2 separate regions of the Homo sapiens genome follow, and region 2 is linked to region 1. The links are contacts of gene promoters, found by promoter capture Hi-C in blood cells and fetal thymus (Javierre and others, 2016). All regions are on one chromosome and are shown on one strand. Each heading gives the region's core, a stretch centred on a gene start or on the middle of the fragment in contact. The rest is flanking DNA. Distances are from core to core; before and after follow the strand shown.

Region 1 (2,620 bases), core at 60-2,559:
TAGATTGCACTTTGCAGATCTTAAAATTGCAAAAAAAAAAGACTTGTTTCCAATAACAATCTATGCACAGAATTTTCACTACAAAGGATATCTTCATCTCCTCTACGATAGTCAAATATTTTCCTAAACCTTACACTTAATCTTGAGTATTTCCTCCAGGCCTTATTTTCCTCTATGCAGTGTCTGGAATCTTAAATATAGGTATTGTAGATACCACTTAAGAACTTTCTTTCTACCAAGGTATATACAATATGTACTGGGAGGTTCCTAGCAGAGATAGGGTAGCTATTTTTAAAAGCACGAACGGTAAAGGGGTTGTTTTACACAATTAAGTTAGAATTGGAGATGTTTGAGAGTCATACAGATTAAGTAACGGATCTAGTTTAGTTAAGGTATTTTAAAGGCAAAGCCTTACCTAAAAAGCTTTCGTTATTACTTTTAATCAAGTTAAAAATCACAAAAGAAACTTGCCATATCAAAAGTTTTATATCCTGTCTAAATAAGGCGATGGTTATTAGCAGGGGGTGTGGTAGACAGAAGGGATGAAAGCAAAGACAGACCACAGCGCGAGATGACGGTCTCAATCTGTACAGTACTCGTGTAAGCGCTCTGGATTTAAAGAACCTAGCATATTTGATCTCCGTCCATAATTCTCCAATTAGTCCTGCTGCGAAGACAGCCAGGTAGGATACTAGTCAGTGCCGGCCTCTCCAGGGTAAGTGAGGAAGAGAATGGCCTGGACAAGGAGGACGTCAACGGTATCACGCTGCACAAAGAACTGCTGTCAATTTTCTTGTGTCCTTACGTTGAGCCAGGCTTTTAGCTATTGTAAAAGCTTTATTTGCACATCACTTAATCTACACAATTTTGCAAAGTAGGAAATTAGGGTCTCCATGGAAGCCGGAACATCTGAAAGCGCAGATCGAGTGGCTGAACGGCGAAAAGCGCGGCGAGTGGGACTCCACGGCCCGAGCTTTCGGCCACCGAATTTAGAATGATACTGAAAACCGAAGGGAAGTCAAACAGGGATCACTACGCCCTTGTTTCGCACCTTAAAACCTACTTCTTCCTCTTTCAGGGACTCCAGGAAGGCCGGGGGGAGGTGGGGCTGGCGGAAGTGGACGCGGCGACCCTCCTGCCGCAGGCGCGTCCAGAACGATACCTTGGCCACTACTTCTGCAACAGCTATCTTCCTCCTCCTCACATTTCAAGGCTCTTCGAAGCTCTCCAGCCACGGCTAGCCCCGCGCACTGGGCCCTCCAGGACCGTACCACCGTCCGCCGTCGCCTGGAACTACCGCCGCCACATTCGAAATTTTCCGCCTCGCTCCTCCATTGGTTGGCTGGGAGGCGGTCACGTGGCGCAGGATGCACCCAACACCACCGTCGCAGGCAGAGTCCCGCCCCGCCAGGCGACGTCACGTGACGCACATTCGCTCAAGTCCACATCCGGGCATCCACCTGGCCCTGGGGCGGAGCCTGCGGTCGGGTCTCGGCGACCCGCCGGGACTTTCTAATCAGAGTCGTGGGGATTTTACGGGTGGAGTTACTCCGAAACCTTTAAGGCCGAGTGTGATAGGTAGTTCAAAGCTTCCTGTTTCTTCAGTCTGACAGCTTCAAATGTCCCGGGTTGTGCTCAAAGCCTCCCTCTTGTGAGAAGAATCTCTTTGGTTGCCTGTTAAAGCGGTCAGCCAGCTTGCAACACGGAAGCAGCTTTTAGAGGAATTAAAACCAAAACAAGGAGCAAATTCTGGATTAAAAAGGTATTAGGGAAACTGCAGATACCTGAAAATTCTAGCTCCATGTTTCTCTTTGCCGGCTATCTCTGGCTCTTTAACTCTTCTCGAGAAATGGCACCAACATCCATCCAGTTACCGACTAGAAGCCTGAGAAATCGTCCTTAATGATTATTTATCCTCTCTTAACCTTTGCCCGTCCAGTCGGTCACACGATCTTCTCAACTCTGCTTTCCAAGTTTCTCTCATGCCCATCTTTTTCCCCCCAATCCAGCTTCCAGCCTAATCTCATTCCCTAAATTGCACTAGTACCCACTCTGACCGCAGACTCCACTCCCTATATTCTTCATAGATTAATATTTTTACAAAACAAGTATCAAATAGGAAACTTTACAATGGCTCCCTATTGCATTTAAGGTGAATTTCAAACTCCTTTAAGATATTTTGTCCTTAAAGAGCCCCATGATTCCTGGTTCCATCACTTGTACATTTTCTTTAATTTTCTTAAAATTCTTGCCACTTTTGCCAATGCTGTTCTGTCAAGAACACTCTTTCCCTTGGCCGAACTTACTCCTATGTATACTGAAGTTTCACTGTACAGATGAATTCTTCCAGAAAGACTTATCTACCCCTAAAGCCCCTGAGTGTCTGCTTTACACTTTCTTAGTGCCCTGCATTTTCCCCTTGGTATTCCTTGTGACACTGACTTGTCGTTCATTGCCTGTTTCTTGAAGTTGAATAAGGGCAGGAACTACATCTGCTTTGTTCATAGCTAAATTGTCAGCATCTCGTTGCAATTTGAAGTAAGTAGTAAATATTCACTGGGACAATAAAGGAACAAATAAATGAAAACGAAACAAATGTTTTGAATCTAGGCATTCTTTA
Region 2 (2,620 bases), core at 64-2,563, 2.4 Mb before region 1:
AGAGAACTACTTAGGGCATCTTTCTTCAGGACATGACTGTATGCATAGCAGAGACCTGCAAGGGGCACCTCCTCTGCTTACCCTCCCACCAACAACCACAAAGAGTAGGAGAGAGTCTGTTTCCTAAAGAAGGGTCATGGCTATTTGGCAGAGTAGGGAGAGATACTTGGCAGACAAAACAATATTTGTTCACTCCATTCCTTGTGTTAGTTACCCAGCACATATATATATCATTCTTCTCATCCATAATTTCAAAACTCTTTCACCTAATAAACTAACCTTGTAAGTAAAGAGTGTGAGGTGCTCAACCAATTGATCGGTGATATTAGGGAGTGGCTGTAAAGTCATTTTAAATCTCATCCTAGTCATAGAAAATGAAAGTGAAATTATTCTTCAGAAAGTCTGCCCTCAAAATGCTAAAACCAGAAATTGATTTGTATGTGGTGTCTGCATACCTGTGTATACCTCCTCCTCCTTTCCAAATCTATTTTTCTCTTCTTCCCTACACTTCCATACACAAGTTTCGTGCCCTACACTGCCTCTCCTTCTCTATTCTTGCTACCGGGAACACAGATATAGTAATGACTCAGGTTCCAATGTGCAGAGCCCAGCAGAGCAACCAGATTGCAGGAAACTGCAACCCTGTATTGCTTGGTAAAGTACTGCCTATCCAACCCAGACTGCCTCACTACACATTTAAATTAGAGAGAAATAAACTTCTACCTTATTTAAGCCACTGAATTTTTTCTGTCTTGCTTTAAAGCTGCATACTCTACCTAATACAATATATAAGGTATTATATACCTACACATATATATATATATATATATGTATGTATGTATGGTATTGTATTCTGTTAACTAAGTTGATAGGCAGAGAATCTCATGAAAGCCTATCTAGATCAATTTAAAAATCATAAATAAATTAATTCATTTGCCCTTAAAGGATATGATGTCAACATTTATGGATACCTGAGAAATGTCAAATGCGTTGATATTACAAGGCTCATGTTTGCACCATTATGCTTTTGATTAACACCAGTGCAACTGTGCTCAAAGTTGTAAAGATCATGGTGTAGTCAGAAACATTAGGAGGGAATATAAACTAAGAAGTTAAGTGCATAGACTCAGGAGTAGAATTGTCCAAGTTCATATCCTAGCTCCCTTACTTGTTAATGACGTAACCTAAAGTGAATTAATTAAGTTACTTAACCTCTGTGGCTCCAGTTTCATCTGTAAGATAGGGATAATAATAGTCCCTAACTTGTTAGGTTGTTGTGAGCATTAAGAGCATTAAATGAGATAATCTCCTGTTAGGTATTTAGCACAAAGTAACCATTCAATTTATATATCTATCAAAGTAACCATTCAATTTATGTATCTATATATAAAATAATTATGTATGTATAGTGCAATAATAATTATAATAAATTATTGATAAATTATTTGTTAATAATTCTTACTAATAACAATTAATAAGTATTATCTCTGAGTCTTCATCAGAAAAAGCAGTATGCAGGAAGAGCAGCTTATTCTACATATAACGATAATTATTGAAATTCAATGCTTGCACATACAAAATAGCAAACTCTGGACTTTACTTTGGATATTAAAAAGACAAAGGTATTTTTGCTATACTGCCCAAATGTCTCCAATGATATGCCCACTAGTATGCCTAAATAGCACAGCAGTAAAACTAATGTCTTAACTTTTGTTCTGAAAGCACCTTATTTCAAAACATTATCCTTCCTCATTGGTGGGAGATTATCAGTGTTGATTTTCAACAGTTTTGTGAAAGGATAATGGAGTCGTGATCACAATTAAGTAGGTAAATTCATTTCCTTGAATCATATGTTCTCTGTGATAGCATTTATTTCCATTGGATTACTTATTCTTGGTCTGGTATGCACAGGTGTTTCCCTAATAAACATTTTTCAACATGATTTTATAGTGTTTCTTATGCCAGATGAGACTCCTACATTTTTTCCAGGTACAGGCTTAAAATGTTGTGCCAAAAAACCTTAAGTAAGCAACATGGGCTGGGAGCGGTGGCTCACGCCTGTAATCCCAGCACTTTGGGAGGCCAAGACAGGCAGACCACAAGGTCAAGAAATCAAGACCATCCTGGCCAACATGGTGAAACCCCGTCTCTACTAAAAATACAAAAATTAACTGGGCATGGTGGTGCATACCTGTAATCCCAGCTATTGGGGAGGCTGAGGCAGGAGAATCGCTTGAACCTGGGAGGCGGAGGTTGCAGTGAGCTGAGATCACGCCACTGCACTCCAGCCTGGAGACAGAGCAAGACTCTATCTCAAAAAAAAAAAAAAAAAAAAAAGCAACTGGCTTACACCATTTAGTTCCATATCCCTGTTAGAGTGTTTGCCCCAATATGTTATGAGCAGCTGCTTAAATGCTTAAATGTCTGACATTCCATAGACTATGAGCCCCTCAAGGGCAAGCAGTATTTCTTGTCTCTGAATCCTCAGTGTTTTAAGAAGTGTGTTGCATTTGGTAGGTATTCAATAAATGTTTGAAATGAATAAGAGTAAATAGGCACAGTGGCTTATGCCCATAATCCCAGCACTTTGGGAGGTCGAGGCAGGCAGATCACCTGAGGT

What was found. Contacts are between HindIII fragments. The CHiCAGO score rates a contact against its expected background, and 5 or more counts as called.
Region 2: a contact is called between a fragment that was not itself captured here and the fragment with the promoter of SGO1 in region 1, in 2 of 17 cell types (total CD4 T cells and non-activated CD4 T cells). The highest score is 7.7, in total CD4 T cells.

What each region holds. Positions count from the first base shown.
Region 1 is chr3:20,184,897-20,187,516 of GRCh38, forward strand. SGO1 (shugoshin 1) reads right to left here and starts at 1,310. Exons shown (of 8, transcript NM_001199251.3): 1 at 1,052-1,310. It overlaps SGO1-AS1 (SGO1 antisense RNA 1), which reads left to right. Exons shown (of 4, transcript NR_132785.1): 4 at 1,079-1,219. RefSeq lists enhancers at 1,028-1,707, 1,728-1,787. The HindIII fragment of the contact is 754 bases long and covers 834-1,587 here.
Region 2 is chr3:17,749,495-17,752,114 of GRCh38, forward strand. No RefSeq gene overlaps it. Among named protein-coding and RNA genes, the nearest start is that of TBC1D5, 8.2 kb to the left of the region's middle. The HindIII fragment of the contact is 6,255 bases long and covers 1-2,620 here.